Linked DNA regions of Homo sapiens: all the other regions are linked to region 1. Evidence: promoter capture Hi-C in 16 types of primary human blood cells and fetal thymus (Javierre and others, 2016). All regions are on one chromosome and are shown on one strand. Each heading gives the region's core, a stretch centred on a gene start or on the middle of the fragment in contact. The rest is flanking DNA. Distances are from core to core; before and after follow the strand shown.

Evidence for each region. Contacts are between HindIII fragments. The CHiCAGO score rates a contact against its expected background, and 5 or more counts as called.
Region 2: a fragment that was not itself captured here is called in contact with the fragment with the promoter of OPA1 in region 1 in 4 of 17 cell types (M0 macrophages, M1 macrophages, M2 macrophages and 1 more); the score reaches 10.6 in M0 macrophages.
Region 3: a contact is called between a fragment that was not itself captured here and the fragment with the promoter of OPA1 in region 1, in 1 of 17 cell types (M0 macrophages). The highest score is 5.1, in M0 macrophages.
Region 4: a fragment that was not itself captured here is called in contact with the fragment with the promoter of OPA1 in region 1 in 2 of 17 cell types (M0 macrophages and M1 macrophages); the score reaches 6.0 in M0 macrophages.
Region 5: a contact is called between a fragment that was not itself captured here and the fragment with the promoter of OPA1 in region 1, in 3 of 17 cell types (fetal thymus, erythroblasts and non-activated CD4 T cells). The highest score is 9.1, in fetal thymus.
Region 6: a contact is called between a fragment that was not itself captured here and the fragment with the promoter of OPA1 in region 1, in 4 of 17 cell types (M1 macrophages, M0 macrophages, endothelial precursors and 1 more). The highest score is 7.2, in M1 macrophages.

What each region holds. Positions count from the first base shown.
Region 1 is chr3:193,591,566-193,595,030 of GRCh38, forward strand. OPA1 (OPA1 mitochondrial dynamin like GTPase) reads left to right here and starts at 1,643. Exons shown (of 31, transcript NM_130837.3): 1 at 1,643-1,844. The coding sequence starts at 1,813. It also overlaps a transcript of ATP13A4 not described here. RefSeq lists enhancers at 1,305-1,956, 1,352-1,421, 1,472-1,521, 1,957-2,608, 2,122-2,201 and a silencer at 1,742-1,891. The HindIII fragment of the contact is 1,567 bases long and covers 1,082-2,648 here.
Region 2 is chr3:192,947,294-192,950,758 of GRCh38, forward strand. No RefSeq gene overlaps it. Among named protein-coding and RNA genes, the nearest start is that of MB21D2, 31 kb to the left of the region's middle. The HindIII fragment of the contact is 2,911 bases long and covers 295-3,205 here.
Region 3 is chr3:192,974,041-192,977,505 of GRCh38, forward strand. No RefSeq gene overlaps it. Among named protein-coding and RNA genes, the nearest start is that of MB21D2, 58 kb to the left of the region's middle. The HindIII fragment of the contact is 9,771 bases long and covers 1-3,465 here.
Region 4 is chr3:192,995,581-192,999,045 of GRCh38, forward strand. No RefSeq gene overlaps it. Among named protein-coding and RNA genes, the nearest start is that of MB21D2, 79 kb to the left of the region's middle. The HindIII fragment of the contact is 7,691 bases long and covers 1-3,465 here.
Region 5 is chr3:194,141,936-194,145,400 of GRCh38, forward strand. No RefSeq gene overlaps it. Among named protein-coding and RNA genes, the nearest start is that of HES1, 7.5 kb to the left of the region's middle. The HindIII fragment of the contact is 7,774 bases long and covers 1-3,465 here.
Region 6 is chr3:193,044,125-193,047,589 of GRCh38, forward strand. No RefSeq gene overlaps it. Among named protein-coding and RNA genes, the nearest start is that of MB21D2, 130 kb to the left of the region's middle. The HindIII fragment of the contact is 1,622 bases long and covers 897-2,518 here.

The DNA of each region.
Region 1 (3,465 bases), core at 393-2,892:
CATGGACATTTATACTGATTCCAATCTTTTCCCATTTCATACAGTGCAGAAATAAACATCATCATGCATACATCTTTGCATACATGGGAATGATTCCACAGGATAAATGCCTAGAAGTAGAACTGCAAAACAAGGGCTTCATAAAACATATGATAACCATATATAAATGGTGATGGTGGTTAGTTTCTCCTTTTTTTATGGTTAAAGTCTTTTATCCCTAATTTTTCTTTTTTGTTGTTGTTGTTAAAGTCTCTTGGTTTCTCTTATTTTATTTTCTAAAATAACAAGGAAGTAACGATTACAAAGACACTTTTTGTACAACCCTACAATCCCAGGAAGATCTACAGTTTGCACAGGTTGGTACAGCAAATTGCTCTCTGGACCTGCCATTGAAACAGTCACCACAATAAATAAAGAAAATTCTAAGAGTCCTGCATTTGGGAAGTTTACTATCAATGGCTAGGTCTACTCTTGGTGGTATTGTGAGTGCATGGGTCCAGACTTATGATTCTGACAATTAAGGGAAAAGGAATTGTCTTTATGCTCTGTGTATTTGTGTATGTGTGTGGCATGGGTGGGGGGCGGGTAGTGGGGAGGAGGTGAAAGGTCCCTGAAGTAAAGAGGATGCACAGGACCCTTTTATTTTAGTCCCTAAAAATTGGCTTCATAACCGTTCACAGGCCACATCCCTTTTACGGGCCCTGGTTTCCTTACAAAACATAAAAGGTTTGTGTTGGAAGGGGAAAGGAGTATTTAAAGTGATGGAGGAGAGGAGCTCAAGATGGCTGAGATCTGGGCCTGTCCAACATTGAGAAATTTGGGAGGGGAGCCATCAAAGAAGCCTGGGAGCAGCAGTTCCAGGGAAAAAGGAGAATGTGATGGCCAGAGAGCCAAAAGAAAAAGTAGTTGAAGGAGTGCTCAGCACTAGGCATCTGAACTGAATGCTGTGGCAGGCTCACTGGCCACAAACAATAGGGAGCTGGTGGAGGCCTTGACGAGGACCATTTCAACAAACTGGTGGGCTTAAAATCCGGAAGAAACAGTTGAACAAATCATTTTGACGCCTTTTATAAACCACACAAGCTTATTCCAAACCCGTTACTGGCCTAACTGATTTAAGTCCCTTTCCCATCTGATCCTCAGAGATTCTAAGGGACTTAGCCTATCCATGACTCTTCGTCCTGCTTCTCACCTCCCATGATTGCCCTAACGATGTGAAAGTGCTTTCAAACAAAGATGCCCAAGAAAGAAGGTAGGCAAATGTGCAAGCATTAGTTTGTAGTACGCTATTACTGTATTTCACCTTGCACTCTCTAGTTTCCTTCGTGCTCCCTCAATATCCAACTCTTAATAAATTCATGGCTCCCGGTGAGCATTCATCAATTCTCATTCCACGCCTTTAGCCCTTCCCGTTCCCGCCCAACTCTCGCTCCCTCCCCTGGCCAAATCTCTAACCTGCAAGGCTAATTCCGAATTCCAAATCGGAAGCAAGAGGGCGGGGCCCCGTGAGAGGCGATGGATTGCTCCAGTCCGTTCCCGACGCACTGTGCGCATGCGCTGGTCCTCCGCGGACCGTTCGTGCTGCCCGCCTAGAAAGGGTGAAGTGGTTGTTTCCGTGACGGACTGAGTACGGGTGCCTGTCAGGCTCTTGCGGAAGTCCATGCGCCATTGGGAGGGCCTCGGCCGCGGCTCTGTGCCCTTGCTGCTGAGGGCCACTTCCTGGGTCATTCCTGGACCGGGAGCCGGGCTGGGGCTCACACGGGGGCTCCCGCGTGGCCGTCTCGGCGCCTGCGTGACCTCCCCGCCGGCGGGATGTGGCGACTACGTCGGGCCGCTGTGGCCTGGTAAGTGCAGGCTCTAATCTGGCCCCGTTAATTCTGGGGCCTCTTGAGAGTGGGGCTGTCTTATCTCTATCTCCAAAAATGTGCAGGTGACTCTCAGGCCAGGCCGACGGCAGTTGGAGAATTCCCAGATGTTCTTGAGGACCCAGAATGACAGGAGCCCTGGCTGGGCTTACGTTCGGAGCCGGCTTCAATACTGGCCCTTTTCTCTGGCCCTACCCAACCCGAAAATTCTGGACGCCTCTCAATCTTGGCCCGTCTCTATTGTCCTTTTGTCTCTGCCCTTTACACCCTTGTGTCTTCAGTGTTCTGTCTGTCTCTGGTTGCCTCTTTTGCCTTTTTTCTGTCCTCTCCCTGCCAGGTTTGGCTCTGTCCATGAGTCACCTCTCTCCACATTTCTCCTAACTCTCGGTGTCTTCTTTTTCTTCCATTTCCACGCCATGTGTACATTGCATCTTCAGGTACCTGGGCTCTTCTATCGGGGAAAGGGGCGTCCGTCTCTTTCCCTAGCCCGCTGATAGAAGTCAGAACTAGAGCAATGACGCACACGGTGTCAGAGACGGTGATTCGAGATGCCCTTTCAATAGCAGCTTTTTTCTGTGTTTCGGGAGGGAGACTTACTTTTTGATGCAAGGTCGTGAACGTGGCACCACCTTTCTAATCTCAATCATTGTTGCCCTGGGGTGGTTTAATTCTAAATAGAAAATCATAGAAATCTTTTCATTTCTGTGCGTTACTATATGCATTGTAATGAGATTAAATTGGATTTTATAGGAAATTTTGTTCTAGTATCATTAGATACCTTCAAGCTTAGCTCATTGTTGCAGGCATTTGATAGGAAGTAAGATGCATCAAGCAAAATTGGAAAAACGTGGTTTTCCTGAATTAACTTCTAAGCAGTTGTTTTGAATTTTTTCCAGACCTTTTTAAGTGGTATAGATAATTTATCGTGTTTATAAGGAATGGAATGCATTCGTTAGTTTGTTTTTGTTTTGTTTTGAGACGGAGTCTTGCTCTGTCGTCCAGGCTGGAGTGCAGTAGCGCTATCTCGGCTCACTGCAACCTCCGCCTCCCAGGTTCAAGCAATTCTCCTGTCTCCGCCTCCGGAGTAGCTGGAATTACAGGCACGCGCCAGCACGCCTAGCTAATTTTTGTATTTTTAGTAGAGAGGGGGTTTCACCATTTTGGCCAGGCTGGTCTCGAACTCCTGACCTCATGTGATCCACCCTCCTCGACTTCCCAAAGTGCTGGGATTACAACCGTGAGCCACCGCGCCCGGCCCAATTTGTTTTATATAGGTTAACTGGAGTCCAAAATACAGAACTAGATGAGATAACAATAGTTAACAGTGTTAGTCAGTTAGAATTATTGCATAGGTATTTTTAATCTCATGGAATTTTAGTCTTTGAGTAAGTTCACAGCCCTTGGTATTAAAGTAAGTTATTTACAACCCTTGCATTTCTACTTCTCAATATTTAGTGAGGAAACATATCTGATTTTCTTTAAATAAAAAGAGAAAAGACTGCAGAAGATAGCATTCTCTGTTGGAGCAATTAAGATGTATAAGAAGAACTACAAAGACGGAGTTTTAAAACAAACTGATTTATAAGTGGTATTTATTTAA
Region 2 (3,465 bases), core at 500-2,999, 640 kb before region 1:
TTTCTCTCTTGAGCTGAAAAGTAGGGCAGACCCATTGCTTTTCCACCCCTTTGTACATCAAAAACCATATTATTAACATCCTCCAGGTGGTAAAAGAAAAGAGGACACTAGCTGATCTATCTGTGCCATATAGTTTTTTGGTTCAGAATATTAACTACTTGGAGAATTACACACACACTATCAGATTTAAAGACTTACTATAAAGCTACAGTAATCTCAGGACAGTATTGACCAGTGGAACAGAATCAAGAGCACAGAGACATCTGTAGAAATATGGTCAATTGATTTCTGGCAAGCTTCCAAAGACAATTAATGGAAGAGAGGATTTGTCTATTCAACAAAGGATGATGAAACAATTGGTCATCCATATGCAAAGCCAAGAACTTTGACCAAAACTTCAAACTTTATATAAAAATAATTCAAAATGAATCATAGAGCTAAATGTAAAACATGAAACTATAAAGCCGTTTTTGGTAGTTTTTTTTTTTATTATTATTATTTTATTTTTCTTTTTGTTTTTGAGACAGGGTCGCCCAGGCTGGAGTGCAGTGGCAAGTACACGGCTCACTACAGCCTGGGGCTCCTGGGCTCAAGGGATCCTTCTGCCTCAACCTCCTGAGTAGCTGGGACTACAGGTGGGTTTCATCACGCCCGGCTAATTTTTTATTTTTATGTTTTGTAGAGCCAGGGTTTCACCATGTTGCCCAGGTTGCTCTCAAATTGCTGGGCTCAAGTAATCTGCTGCCTCGGCCTCCCAAGTGTTGGGATTACAGGCATGAGCCACGAGGCTCAGCCCTATAAAACCTTTCAAAGAATTGATAGGACCAAAATGTTTTTGACCTGAAGTTAGGCAGACAGGCTTTTTGTTTTATTTATTTTTTTAAGTGACTTAAAAATATTTACTTATTACAAATTTATTATCTTACACTTCTGAAGGTAAGTCTTAAATGGGTTTCATTAAGCTAAAATCAAGATGTCAGCAGGGCTGCGATCCTTCTGGAAATTCTAGGGGAGAAACTGTTTCTCTGTCTTTTCCAGCTTCTGGGGAGGCCTGCATTCCTTGGCTCGTGGCTCCTTTCTCCATCACCAAAGCCAGTACCGTAGTGTCTTCCCATCACTTTCTCCTTCTCTCTGACCCAGACCCTCCTGTCAGAGAGTTCTCAAACAGGACACCAAGAACATGATCCGTTAAAACGAAAAGTTGATAAACTGGACTTCATAACAATTTAAGAAGTTTGCTTTGTAAAATACATTATTAAGATAATGAAAATACAAGCTATGAACTGGATGATGAAAATAGTTGTGAATCATATTTCTGATGAAGGACTCCGAATATATAAAGAATTCTTAAAACTCAATGGTAAGAAAAACACACTTTTTTAAATGGGCAAATATCTTGAATAGACACTTTGCTAAAGAGGATATAGATGGCAAATAAGCACAGAAAGGGATGTTTAGCATCTCTTTAATGAGCACATGAAGAAGTTCAAATAGAAAAAATGCAAATTAAACCACCATGAGATACTATTAAACACTTTTTAGAAAGGCTGAAATTAGGCCAGGCACGGTGGCTCATGCCTGTAATCCCAGCACTTTAGGAGGCGGAGGTGGGCGGATCACCTGAGGTCAGGAGTTCAAGACCGGCCTGACTAATATGGTGAAGCCCTCTCTCTACTAAAAATACAAAATTAGCCTGGCATGGTGGCACATGCCTGTAATCCCAGCTACTTGAGAGGCTGAGGCAGGATAATCACTTGAACCCGGGAGGTGGAGGTTGCGATGAGCCGAGATCATACCATTGCACTCCAGCTTGGGCAACAAGAGTGAAACTCCATCTCAAAAAAAAAAAAAAAAAAAAAAAAAGGAAGAAAGAAAAAAGGAAAAGAAAGGCTGAAAAGAAAAAAAGAAAACAGTAACTGACAATACCAAGTGCTGATAAGGATGTGGAGGCACTGGAGCTGTAATATTTTGCTGGTGAGAAGTCAAGATACAACCATTCTAGAAAAGGTTGGCAGTTGTAAGGTTAAACAAATGCTTACCATGTGACCCAACAACCTGACTCCTAGGTATTTATCCCCACAAAACAAACACTTACCTTTACACAAAATCTTACATGTAATGCGTATAGCGACTCTATTCATGATCTCCAAAACCTGAGACAGCTCAAATTTCTTTCAACAGATGAATGGATAAATAAATGTGATACATCTGTATTACAGAAAATTACTCAGCAATGTAAAGGAAGAGACTATCGTTCCATGCAGCAGCAAGAATGGAGTTCAAAGACATTATACTGAGTGGAAGAAGTCAGTTCGAAAAGGTTATATACTACAAAATTCCATTTATGTCACATTCTCACAAAGAAAAAGACTATGTGACAGAGACCAGATCACTGAGTTCCAGGGGTTAGCATGGGAGGAAGGTGTGATTACAAATGGGTAAAGCGATGGTACTGATTTGTATACTGATTGTAGTGATGCTTGCATGAATCTACACACGTATTAAAATTCTTAGAACTGTACATCAGGAAAGCCAATTTTATTATATAAAATTTAAAAAAAAATTTAATGAAAGAACTAATAATTATCAAGACCTTGAATCCAGATTCCATTACTTTATAGCTGCGCTATATTGAACCAGGTACTATTTTCCTTAAGCCTCAGTTTTCTCATCACCTAAAATGTGTATAAGAGTATCTACATCGTGGCCGGGCGCAGTGGCTCACGCTTGTAATCCCAGCACTTTGGGAGGCCGAGGAGGGCGGATCATGAGGTCAGGAGATCGAGAACATCCTGGCCAACATGGTGAAACCCTGTCTCTACTAAAATACAAAAAATTAGCAGGGTGTGGTGGCGCGTGCCTGTAGTCCCTGCTACTCAGGAGGCTGAGGCAGGGGAATCACTTCAACCCAGGAGGTGGAGATTGCAGTGAGCCGAGATCGTGCCACTGCACTCCAGCCTGGAGACAGAGCAAGACTCTGTTTCAAATAAATAAATAAATAAATAAATAAATAAATAAATAAATAAATAAGAGTATCCACATCTCATAGGGATGTTTGGTGAATTATAGGAGGCCATGTGTATATAGTTGTATGCACAGTGGCATATTAGTGAATACACAATAAATTTACCTGTTAATATGGGGTCATTATTTTCAGAAGAAAAATCTTTAGAGGAGGCTGAATGTTATGGTGATAAGGAACAAAAGCTTTAATAAACAGTCATACTTAGCTTTGAATTGCTTATCATCTTGGACACGTTAATCACTCTCTCTGAACTTTAGTTTCCTAATCCAAGAACAGTGATAGTAATATTCACTTTATTATATTGTGATGAGCATAACCATTAATATACATATAATGTCTGGTACTCAGTGAGTGTTCAATAAACGATAGCTGTAATTATGATTTCGAGTGGTTCAATAAGTAAAATATGATTTCTTCTGACATTTAAAAATTACATTTAC
Region 3 (3,465 bases), core at 263-2,762, 620 kb before region 1:
GACTTTCCCAGACAAACAAAAGCTGAGGGATTTCATTAACACCAGACTTGCCCTCCAATAAATGCTAAAGGGAGTTCTTTAATGTGAAAGGAAAGGACATTAATGAGCAATAAGAAATCCTTTGAAGGTACAAAACTCTCTGGCAATAGTAAGTATACAGAAAAACACAGTTACATATTATAATATATAATTGTGTAAGTATGTAAATATGTAAATATGTAAATATTATAACACTGTGATTGTGGTATATAAACTACTCATACCTTGAGTAGAAACACTAAAAGATAAACCTATCAAAAATAATAACTACAACAAGTTTTCAAGACATAGACAGCATAGTAAGATATAAATAGAAAACACAAAAAGTTAAAAAGTAGGAGGATGAAGTTAAAAAGTGTAGAGTTTTTATTAGTTTTCTCTTGGCTTGCTTGTTATTTTTTTTTCAATCAGTGCTAAGTTGCCATCAGTTTACTTATTTTATTTATTTATTTATTTATTTATTTATTTATTTTTTGAGATGGAGTCATGCTCTGTTGCCCAGGCTGGAGTGCAGTGGTGCGATCTCAGCTCACCTCAGCCTTTGCCTCTTGGGTTCAAGCAATTCTCCTTCCTCAGCCTCCCAAGTAGCTGGGATTACAGGTGTGCACCACCACACCCAGCTAATAAGAGGGAAGTTTATAGCAATAAGTACCTACAACAAAAAAGTTTCACCATGTTGGCCAGTCTGGTCTTGACCTCAACTGATTCTCTGACCTCAGCCTCCCAAAGCGCTGGGATTAAAGGCATCAGCCACCACACCTGGCCAAGTTGAAATCAGTTTAAAACCATGAGTTATAAGATGTTATTTGCAAGCCTCATGAGAACCTCAAATAAAAAAACCTACAACAGATACACAAAAAATAAAAGAAATTAAAATGTACTATATTATCAGAAAATATTACCTTCCCAAAAAGGAAGGAAAGAATGAAGGAAGGAAGGCCACAAAACAACAAGAAATCAAATAACAAAATGGCAGGATTAAGTCCTCACTCATAAATAATGACATTGAAAGTAAATAGATTAAACTCTCCAATCAAAACCCAGGAGTGGCTGAATGGATAAAAAACAAAACCCAACAATCTGTTGCCTACAATAAACATATTTCACCTATAAAGACACATGCAGACTCAACATAAAGGGATGGAAAAAGATATTCCCTGCAAATGGAAACCAAAGAAGAGCAGAAGTAGCTATATTTATATCAGACAAAATAGATTTCAAGACAAAAGCTGTAAAAAGAGACAAGGTAATTATATAGTGATAAAGGGGTCAATTCAGTAAGAAGATAAAACAATTATAAATATACATGCACCCAACACTGGAGCACCCAAATATATAAACTAAATATTATCAGACCTAGGGAGAGATTCCAATACAATTCTAGCTGGAGACTTCAACCTCCCACTTTCAGCGTTGGACAGAGCATCCAGACAGAAAATCAACAGAGAAACATGGGACTTAATCTGCACTATAAGACCAAATGAACCTAATAGATATTTATGGAACTTTTTATTCAATGGCTACAGAATACACAAACTTCTCCTCAGTACATGGATCATTCTCAAGGATGGACCATCTGTTAGGCCACAAAACAAGTTGTAAAATATTCAAAAATTTAAATTATATAAAATATCTTCTCTGACCACAATGGAATAAAACTAAAAATCCATACAAAGAGGAATTTTCGAAGCTATACAAACACCTGGAAATTAAACAATATGCTTCTGAATGCCCAGTGGGTCAATGAAGAAATTAAGAAGGAAATTTAAAATTTTCTTGGAATGAAGGAAAATGGACTCAGAACATCCCAAAACCTATGGGGTACTGCAAAAGCAGCAATAAGAGGAAAGTTTATAGCAATAAGTACCTACAACAAGAAAGTACAAAAATTTCAAATAGGGCCAGTTGCAGTGGCTCATGCCTGTAATCCCAGCACTTTGAAAGGCCGAGGTGGGCGGATCATGAGGTCAGGAGATCGAGACCATCCTGGCTAACACGGTGAAAACCTGTCTCTACTAAAAATACAAAAAATTAGTCAGGCGTGGTGGTGGGTGCCTGTAGTCCCACTTACTCAGGAGGCTGAGGCAGGAGTATCACTTGGATCTGGGAGGCAGAAGTTGCAGTGAGCCGAGATTGCACCACTGCACTCCAGCCTGGGAGACAGAGTGAGACTCTGTCTCCAAAAAAAAAAAAAGAAAGAAAGAAAAGAAAAGATAAATTTCAAACAATAACCCCATGATGCATCTTAAGGAAGTAAAAAAGCAAGAGCAAACCCAACCCAAAATTAGCAGAAGAAAAGAAATAATAAAAATCAGCCCAAATATAAATAAAATTGAAATTAAAAAAATACCAAAGATAAACAAAATAAAAAGTCAAGTTTTCAAAAAGATAAAATGGACAAATCCTTAGCCAGACTAACTAAGAAAAAAAAAAAAGAAAGAAAAAACCCAAGTGAATAAAATCAGAGATGAAAAAAGAGACATTACAACTGCTACTACAGAAATCCAAAGGATTATTACAGGATACTATGAGCAACTATATGCCAATAAATTGGAAAACCTAAAAGAAATGGATACATTTCTACACACATACAGTCTACCAAGATTGAACCATGAATAAATCCAAAACCTGAATAGACCAATAAGAAGTCATGAGATTGAAGCCATAATAAAGTCTCCCAGCAAGGAAAAGCCCAGAACCTGATGGCTTCACTGCTGAATTCGCCCAAACATTTACAGAATATCTTACTCAACCTGTGCTGAAAATTGAAGGAGGAGGGAATACTTCCAAAATCATTCAAAAACAACAACAACAACAAAAACAAACAACTAGAGGCCAATAGCCCTAATAAACATTGATGCAAAAATCCTCAACCAAATGCTAGTAAACCAAATTTGACAGCACATTAATAAGATCAGTCATCAAGACCAAGTGGGATTTATCCCAAGAATGCAAGGATGGTACAACATACACAAATCAATCAATGTGATGCATTATATTAACAGAATGAAGGACAAAAACCATGTGATCATTTCAATTGATTGCTGAAAATGTATTTGATAAAATTCAACATCCTTTTATGATAAAAACCCTAAAAAAACTGGGCATAGGAGGAACATACCTCATCACAATAAAAGCCATGGGCAGCACACCCACAGCTAGTATTCTACTGAATGGAGAAAAACTGAAAGTCTTTCATCTAAGGTCTGGAAAAAGACAAGAATACCCACTGTCACCACTGTTATTCAACATAGTACTGAAGTTCTAGCTATGAGCAATCAGACAAGAGAAAGAAATAAAGGGCATCCAAATTGGAAAGGGCAAAGTCAAATTATCTTTGTTTGCAAATAATATGATCTTATATTTGGAAAAACCTAAAAACTCCACCAAAAAACTATTAGAATTGATAAACAAATTCAGTGAAGT
Region 4 (3,465 bases), core at 657-3,156, 600 kb before region 1:
TTTTTTACTTTTTGATAATAGACATTCTGACTCACGGTGTGAGATGATATTTCACTGTGGTTTTTGTCAGGCTTCTGAGCCCAAGCTAAGCCATCATATCCCCTGTGACCTGCATGTACACATCCAGATGGCCAGTTCCTGCCTTAACTGATGACATTCCACCACAAAAGAAGTGAAAATGGCCTGTTCCTGCCTTAACTGATGACATTGTCTTGTGAAATTCCTTCTCCTGGCTCATCCTGGCTCAAAAGCTCCCCTACTGAGCACCTTGTGACCCCCCCACTCTGCCCGCCAGAGAACAACCCCCCTTTGACTGTAATTTTCCTTTATCTACCCAAATCCTGTAAAAATGGCCCCACTCTTATCTCCCTTCACTGACTCTCTTTTCAGACTCAGCCTGCCTGCACCTGGGTGATTAAAAGGTTTGTTGCTCACACAAAGCCTGTTTGGTGGTCTCTTCACACGGACATGCATGAAATTCGGTGCCGTGACTCGGATCAGGGGACCTGCCTTGGGAGATCAATCCTCTGTCCTCCTGTTCTTTGCTCCGTGAGAAAGATCCACCTACGACCTCAGGTCGTCAGACTGACCAGACCAAGAAACATCTCACCAATTTCAAATCCGGTAAGCAGCCTCTTTTTACTCTGTTCTCCAACCTCCCTCACTATCCCTCAACCTCTTTCTCCTTTCAATCTTGGCGCCACACTTCAATCTCTCCCTTCTCTTAATTTCAATTCCTTTCATTTTCTGGTAGAGACAAAGGAGACACGTTTTATCCGTGGACCCAAAACTCCAGCGCCAGTCATGGACTGGGAAGGCAGCCTTCCTTTGGTGTTTAATCATTGCAGGGACGCCTCTCTGATTATTCACCCACATTTCAGAGGTGTCAGACCATGCAGGGATGCCTGCCTTGGTCCTTCACCCTTAGCGGCAAGTCCTGCTTTTCTGGGGGAGGGGCAAGTACCCCAACCCCTTCTCTCCGTGTCTCTATCCCTTCTCCGCTTTTCTTGGGGAGGGGCAAGAACCCCTCAACCCCTTCTCCTTCACCCTTAGCGGCAAGTCCTGCTTTTCTAGGGGGCAAGAATCCCCAATCCCTTATTTCCGTGCCCTGACCTCTTATCTCTGTGCCCCATCCCTTATTTCCGTGCCCCGACCTCTTATCTCTGCGCTCCGATCCCTTATTTCCGTGCCCTGACCTCTTATCTCTGTGGCTCAACCCCTTATTTCCATGCCCTGACCCCTTTCCTGCTTTTCTGGAGAGTAAGAAGCCCCGAACCCCTTCCCTCTGTGTCTCTACTCTCTCTTTTCTCTGGGCTTGCCTCCTTCACTATAGGCAAACTTCCACCCTCCATTCCTCTGTCTCCCTTAGCCTGTGCTCTCAAGAACTTAAAACCTGTTCAACTCACACCAGACCTAAAACCTAAATGCCTTATTTTCTTCTGCAATGCTGCTTGACCCCAATACAAACTCAACAGTGGTTCCAAATAGCCAGAAAATGGCACTTTGAATCTTTCCATCCTGCAAGATCTAAGTAATTCTTGTTGTAAAATGGGCAAACGGTCTGAGGTGCCTGATGTCCAGGCATTCTTTTACACATCAGTCCCTCCCTAGTCTCTGTGTCCAGTGCAACTTGTCCCAAATCTTCCTTCTTTCCCTCCCACCTGTCCCCTCAGTCCCAACCCCAGGCATTGCTGAGTCTTTCTAATATTCCTTTGCTACAGACCCATCTGACCTCTCCCCTCCTCCCCAGGCTGGTCCTCACCAGGCCGAGCTAGGTCCCAATTCTTCCTCAGCCTCTGCTCCTCCATCCTATAATCTTTTTATCACCTCCCCTCCTCACACCTGGTCCAGTTTACAGTTTCATTCTGTGAGTAGCCCTCCCCCACCTGCCCAGCAATTTCCTCTTAAAAAGGTGGCTGAAGCTAAAGGCATAGTCAAGGTTAATGCTCCTTTTTCTTTATCAGACCTCTCCCAAATCAGTGAGCATTTAGGCTCTTTCATCAAATATGAAAAACCCAGCCCAGTTCATGGCTCGGCAGCAGCCCTGAGATGCTTTACAGCCCTAGATCCTAAAAGGTCAAAAGGCTGTCTTATTCTCAATATACACTTTATTACCCAATCTGCTCCTGACATTAAATAAAACTCCAAAAATTAAATTCCGGCCCTCAAACCCCACAACAGGACTTAATTAACCTCGCCTTCAAGGTGTACAATAATAGAGTAAAGGCAGCCAAGTAGCAATGTATTTATGAATTGCAATTACTTGTCTGCACTGTGAGACAAACCCCAGCCACATCTCCAGCACACAAGAACTCCAAACACCTGAACCACAGCTGCCAGGGGTTCCTTCAGAACCTCCTCCCCCAGGAGCTTGCTACAAGTGCCGGAAATCTGGCCACTGGGCCAAGGAATGCCCACAGCCCAGGATTCCTCCTAAGCCGTATTCCGTCTGTGTGGGACCTCACTGAAAATCAGACTCTTCAACTCACCTGGCAGCCACTCCCAGCTTCCCTGGAACTCTGGCCCAAGGCTCTCTGACTGACTCCTTCTCAGATCTTCTCAGCTTAGCGGCTGAAGACTGACACTGCCTGATTGCCTTGGAAGCCCCCTAGACCATCATGGACACCGAGCTTTGAGTAACTCTCACAGTGGAAAGTAAGTCCATCCCCTTCTTAATCAATACAGAGGCTACCCACCCCACATTACCTTCTTTTCAGAGGCCTGTTTCCCTTGCTTCCATAACTGTTGTGCGTATTGACAGCCAGGCTTCTAAACCTCTTAAAACTCCCCAACTCTGGTGCCAACTTAGACAATACTCTTTTAGGCACTCCTTTTAGTTATCCCCACCTGCCCAGTTCCCTTATTAGGCCGAGACACTTTAACTAAATTATCTGCTTCCCTGACTATTCCTAGGCTACAGCCACACCTCATTGCTGCCTTTTCCCCCAGTTCAAAGCCTCCTTCACATCTTCCCCTTGTATCTCCCCACCTTAACCCACAAGTATAAGATACATCTACTCCCTCCTTAGGGACTGATCATGCACCCCTTACCATCCCATTAAAACCTAATCACTCTTACCCTGATCAATGCCAATATCCCATCCCACAGCATGCTTTGAAAGGATTAAATCCTGTTATCACTCGCCTGTTACAGCATGGCCTTTTAAAGCCTATAAACTCTTCTTACCATTCCCCCATTTTACCTGTCCTAAAACCAGACAAGGCTTACAGGTTAGTTCAGAATCTGCGCCTTATCAACCAAATTGTTTTGCCTAGCCACCCCATAGTGCCAAACCCATATACTCTCCTGTCATCAATACCTTCCTCTACAACCCATTATTCTGTTCTGGATCTCAAACATGCTTTCTTTACTATTCCTTTGCACCGTTCATCCCAGCCTCTCTTTGTTTTCAGTTAGACTGACCCTGACACCCATCAGGCTCAGCAAATCACCTGGGCTGTACT
Region 5 (3,465 bases), core at 521-3,020, 550 kb after region 1:
TCCCAAAAAAGACCTTGCCACCAGACAGCAACCCTGGACGCCTAAAAAAAAAATCCTCATTTCTGAAAACCCTGAGCGCCTACTGAGTGCTCAGCAGGCCCAATTCCCACCAGCCTCCGCCGCACCGAGCTCCCTGTGTAGCCGGGGAGATCCACAAACACCCTCGTGACTCATCCCAGGTTTGATGTGCTAAGTGCCAAAACTGAAGTTTAAACAAAGGGCACCTAGAACAGAGAGATTAATTCTGATGAGAGGAAACCAGGCCGGGGAGGTTTTTCAGAGTTGGCACTTGAAGCCGAGAGGTGAAAGATGAGTTCAACAGGAAGGGTTAGAAGCAGAAGGGTGAGGGAAAACGCGGAGATGAACATATATACGTCCAGTCTGGGGAGATGTCAGTATGTTTACCATGGTGTGGTATCTAAGTTTTCAAATATACAAATTGGCTTAGAGGTCAAAAAAAGAAAAAGAGGGATAAGCCCTGCCGCAGTGGTTGGCTTAAATGCAATACAGCCCAGGGGTTAGAAGCACGTGGTCTGGCTCCTGGCGGCTTGGCTTAGGTTTTGAGCCCGAGGGAAATTACTGAACTCCCTGCCTCAATTTTGTAACTCTGTATCTCATTTGTAACTTAGGGCTCGTCAGGGTAGTGCTTCACAGGGTTGAGAAGATGAAATGAGTACATGCACTTAAAGCATTTAGAATAGTGCTGTCAGCTCTTCGGATTCTTAACCACAGTGAGGGACGTTCACCAGACAAGAAAGCCAGTCCCGGCCTTTGCCCAGCGATGGCAGGATCTGCTTGTAATTGCACCAGGCCCTAGGTGAAAGGACCACTGCTTCTTCCTTAGTTTCTGAATTTCATGCATTCATTTGATAATTATTGAACCAGGCACTATGGGAATAAAGGGAGAAGAAAGGCATGGTCTCTGTAACTATAAAGCTATCTGGTAGACAAGACAGCTTCCACACAAGAACAGCACTGCTGGGCGCGGTGGCTCACGCCTGTAATCCCAGCACTTTGGGAGGCCAAGGCGGGTGGATCACAAGGTCAGGAGATCGAGACCATCTTGGCTAACATGGTGAAACCCCGTTTCTACTAAAAATACAAAAATTAGCCGGGCTTGGCGGCATGCGCCTGCAGTCCCAGCTGCTGGGGAGGCTAAGGCAGGAGAATGGCGTGAACCTGGGAGGCGGAGCTTGCAGTGAGCCAAGATTGTGCCACTGCACTCCAGCCTGGGTGACAGAGCGAGACTCCATCTCAAAAAAAAAAAAAAAAAAAAAAAAAAACCAAGAACAACAACAAATTGCTGTGTTAAGTGCCATAAGGAAAGAGTCATGCACAGTGATGGTACAAAAAAAGATTGCACGTCACAACAGGTAACTTTTTTGGTTCTCCAAATATGATTAATCCTTGTGATCATTCATAGAAATTACTGGCATAGTAAATAATTAGTCAAATTCCACCTAAGAAAGGTGATTCTCAAATGGTTAATTTCAAGGGTAATTATTTTACAATACTAACATCTTCTGCATGAGCATAATTACCTAGATGTGGTCAAGAAACTGGACTGCGAGTCAGGAAATCTGAGGCCTGATCCAGTTGGACTGCTACCTGTGAGATGCTGGCCAAGTCCCCTTACGTCTCTGGGCTTCGATCTCTGTGCCAGCACAATGAGAACGTTAGGCCAGGAAGCCTCTGAAGTGCTTTCAACTCCAGTCTGTGATTCCCTGTCCTCAGTGTGCTTCTGTGTGCCTTTACAGTTTGACACATGCTCTGTGGCTCTAGCAATGTATATCAGGCGTATTTCAGACCTTACAGCCAAGGCCCTGGCAGGATTGTTACAGACAAGTTTTTTGTTTTTTTGTTTTTTTTTGAGACGGAGTCTCACTCTGTCGCCCAGGCTGGAGTGCAGTGGCACTATCTTGGCTCACTGCAAGCTCTGCCTTCCGGGTTCACACCATTCTCCTGCCTCAGCCTCCTGAGGAGCTGGGACTACAGGCACCCGGCTAATTTTTTTTTTTTTTTGTATTTTTAGTAATGACAGGGTTTCACCGTGTTAGCCAGGATGGTCTCAATCTCCTGACCTCATGATCCACCCACATTGGCCTCCCAAAGTGCTGGGATTACAGGCGTGAGCCACCGCGCCCGGCGACAGACAAGTATTTTCATCTGCAGTTAAAGATATGGGGACTGAGACCTGAAGGACAGGCATCGTAGTTCACCAGAAAATAGCCTACGTATCAGTTTCCTGGAGAGCTGCCATGTTAGTGAGAATCATAGCTACTGCAAAGTACATCGAAGGCAGACTGCATCTGCCAGGATTTGCTCACATATGTGCTACCAAGACCTTATCCTTTGCTATGATATCGAGCAGCAAGAGTTAAAAATACCACTTTCTCTCTTCATCCTAAAAAAATTTCCCCCAATCCTTTTCACTTGCTCACTTCTTTTCTGAAAAGAGAATGTGATCTGTTGGTTCTCGGGACTCTCTCTATTTAAGAAATATACTTCCCCAACTGGGCCAGGTGCAGTGGCTCACACCTGTAATCCCAGCACTTTCAGAGGCAAAGACAGAAGATTGCTTGCACCAGGGGTTCAAGACCAGTCTGGGCAACATAGTGAGACCGACATCTCTATGGGGGAAAAAATAAAGAAAAAAAATATATATATTTCCCCAACTAGCTAGAGTTTTTCCACTAGTACATTTACTGAATTAAATAGGCTAACTGGACTAGTCTGGCTAAAGAAGAATGTCAATCTGAATTAGTGGAAAATCTGAGTTTTAAATATCTGTTAGGAAAAGTAGTAACTTTGCAAATACTTGTAGTGAGTCTGAATTCATAGCTTTCATAAAACTAATGCATTAAAGTCATTTAAAGAATGTGTTCTCTTATTAAGCAGGTTAAATGTGGCTCTGGCAATATTATTTGTACTATAAATCTTCCTTAAAATAATCAGAGGGGCCAGAGTGCAGCCCAAGTAAATAATTGCAATCTAAATTAATAAGAAGCCTTTACTGCAGCTATTCTTTCTATGTTCAGATATGTTCCCAATCCTAATTTGTCTTTAGTCAAGCAGAGATCAATACATTTTTTTCTTAGAAGTCCAAGTATAACTTAATGATAGCCATGTTATTTAAGGAACACTATTTGTTTCTTATTTTGTTTTTCACAAATGTGATAGTTTTCATGTTCAACTAACTTTATGAGTTTTGTCATCAATGTGAGACATGAAATGTATAATTAGTTTACAAAAAACTCCAGCCTAAAGAAAAACTATTGCAATTGACAAACACTACCCCATACTTCATGTTTTCTGCACCATCATCTTTTCCTCCTAGCTTTATGGTTATAAAATTTGTCTCTGGTCAGGCGCAGTGGCTCACACCTGGAATCCCAGGGCTTTGGGAAGCCGAGGTGGGCGGATCACTCGAGGTCAGCAGGTGGAGATCAGCTTGGCCAATATGGT
Region 6 (3,465 bases), core at 458-2,957, 550 kb before region 1:
GGAAGTTTACATGTCAAAATTTTAACAGTTGATATTTCTAAATTGTGAGATTATGAGTCACATTAATTTACTTTCTACTGTATTGCATTTTCCAATTTTCCATAATAAACTACCATTACTCCTTTAGTTAGAAAAGAATAGATTATAAGTAGCACAAAATACTTTTTAAAAAGCTTAAAGTTTTTTCAAATATATTAACATATTTGATCTCTGTAACAATGCTATGAGGCAAGAATGGGAACAATGTTTTTGAATTCATACATAACAAAATTGAGGCTCAGAAGAGTTAAGTCATGTGGCCAAGTAGCCTAATAATCAGAATAGGTCTTCTGAGTATTAATCCAATCTCTCCATTATACCACAATTCTTTAAAATACCTTCCTTCAGCCTGGGTGTGGTAGCTCACACCTGTAATCCCAGCACTTTGGGAGGCCAAGGTTGGATAATCACTTGAGTGCAGAAGTTTGAGACCAACCTGGGTAACATGGCAAAACGCTGTCTGTACAAAAAATAAAAAAAATTAGCCAGGCATGGTGGTGTAAACCTGTAGTCCCAGTTACTTAGGAGGCTAAAGTGGGAGGATCACTTGAGCCTGGGTGGTTGAGGCTGCAGTAAGCCATGATCTTACCACTGCACTCCAGCCTGGGCAACAGAGTGAGACCCTGTCTCAAAAATAAATAAAACAATAAATATTAAAATATCTTCCTTTAATAAACAAAGAAAAATCTAACAATGCTCTTTATTCCCAACAATTTATTAATGACACATATGAAAGTAGAAGAAATAATAACAATAACAGCAGTAATATGTTTCATGGAGATCGTTTAAGCTTAGTCTTAAATTGAAATATTTGGGATAAAATATATATAAATATATAGTGACTTGGAGATCATTTAAGCTTAGTCTTAAATTGAAAGATTTGGGATAAAAATATATATAAATATACAGTGACTGGGTATATACCCAAAGGAATGTAGGTCATGCCATCATAAAGACACATGCACATGTATGTTCTTGCAGCACTATTCACTACAGCAAACACATGGAATCAACCTAAATGTCCATGAGTGGTAGACTGGATAAAGAAAATGCAGTACGTATACACCATGGAATACTATGCAGCCATACAACGGAGGCCATTATCCTTAGCAAACTAATGCAGGAACAGAAAATTAAATATTTCACATTCTCACTTATAAGCAGGAGCTAAATGATGAGAACACATGGACACATAGAGAGGAACAGCAGGCACAGGGGCCTACCTGAGGGTGGAGGGTAGGAGGAAGGAGAGGATCAGGAAAAATAACTAATGAGTATTAGGCTTAACACCTGGGTGACAAAATAATCTGTACAACAAATCCCTGTGACATAAGTTTACATAAATAACAAACCTGCACATGTACTCCTGAACTTAAAAGTTAAAAAAAGAAATGTAAGTTTCATACAAAAAAAATGAATAAGTAGCAACCTGGGATGAAAATTGTCACTGAGTTTTTTACTCCACAGCACGTTCTTATTGTTGTCCATCTATGAAGATGAAGCATGGAGACTCCTTTACGAGACTCTACTGGGTATTTCAATAGGTATTCCTACCTGTGAGAATGCATGCATGGACCACTCCTCTAGGCAGAGGCTCCTCATCTGGAGGAGTGAAAGGAGAATTAGGGAGACAAGAAATTATTACAAGAGTTCCAGAGATCTTGAAGTATAAATATTTTTTCATTCCAGGCATGTAAAAAATATGGCCACAGTTATGTATGTGTGTGTTGTGGGATGTGGCATGGTTCTGCATATATGAGGTGTTCTTTTGTTGAAGAAGTTGGGGATTATTGCTATAGATCAATAATATTAAAAATCCCATTTATAATATATTATTTTCCACTCTCCCTTCCTGTAATAAAACCAACCATCCCAACAATCACAATATAAATGGATGTTTTCTGAGACGAATTCAGTTTTCTAGTTGTGAGTGAGTTGAACTCAACCAGCTTCTACCTGCAAGATATGTTGCAACTGCTTTGGACCTCACTCTGGGGAAGCGAAGATGGGGTAGAATAAAGAACTCTCTAGAAAAGTAGCCAGAGAGACTGTTCTTCAAGAAGCAACATCTGTTCAGCACCTATCACAGACCCTGGATTATATGTGGTGAAACTGTTTTTTGCCTGTGGTTTGTGGATGGAGCTTTGGGGCCAGTCATCAATATCTATTTCAGCGGTCAGAGCCTCTTTGCTCTGTGCTAACTAAACTTCATCCAGGTTTTTGTGGTACTCTTGTGATTTGTGAAATGACAGACACCTGGACTAAAAGGAATGACAAAATATATTTCAAGACTTTCAAAAGGGTTCCATAGTTTGATGCCAATTGTCTTGAGGCAAGCGGCTGGGCATTCCCTTCCAAGGAGGATCGTGAACAGCTGTCAGGCCTAATCTGGGTGAGAGATGAAAGGGGTGACCTGCGGGTTAAAGTCTCCACTGCCTGCTGCAAATCCCCCGAGTTATCTAATCTGTCCAGCGGCACAAGCTTTCTGCAAAGAAAGCATTATTTTACAGCTGACTCTTTAACAAAGGGGAAATAACAACTGTTAGAAAATGTAGTAAGTAGTTGTCCTAAGATAATGCTGCTTGAATAAATTCTATAGAGTTTTTTTAATTAAAAAATCTTCAAAAGGACAGATAAATATCAGAAAGCCCACATGGACTGTGTACACGAGGCATTGCATTGCATTATGGAATATTGTCTAGGTTCTTTTTGTGTGGGTGTGTGTGTGACAGAGTCTCACTTTGTTGCCCAGGCTGGAGTGCAGTGGCACAATCTTGGCTCACCGCAACCTCCACCTCCCAGGTTCAAGTGATTCTCCTGCCTCAGCCTCCTGAGTAGTTGGGATTACAGGCGTCCACCACCATGCCCAGCTAATTTTTGTATTTTTAGTAGAGACAGGGTTTCACCATGTTGGCCAGGCTGGTCTCAAACTCTTGACCTCAAGTGATCCACCTGCCTCGGCCTCCCAAAGCGCTGGGATTACAGGCGTGAGCCACTGCACCTGGCTGTCCAGGTTCTTACACACACACACACACACACAGACACACACACACACACAGAGAGAGTGAGAGAGAGAAAGAGAGAGAGAGAGAACACCATCAGCCTAAAGTCCTGTACATGGGCTAATTGCCTCTAACCCAAAGTCTGCTTGGGATGATTGGTGTGATGGTTAATATTGAATGTCAACTTGATTGGACTGAAGGATGCAAAATATTGTTCCTGGGTGTATCTGTGCGGGTGTTGACACATTTGAATCAGTGGACTGGGAGAGGCAGACCCACCCTCAATCTGGGTGGGCACCATCTAATCAGCTGCCAGTGTGGCTAGAATAAAGCAGGCAGAAAATTTGGAAGGACTAGACTTGCTGAGTCTTCCAGCCTTCATCTTTCTCCCATGCTGGATGCTTCCTTCCTTGAACATCAGACT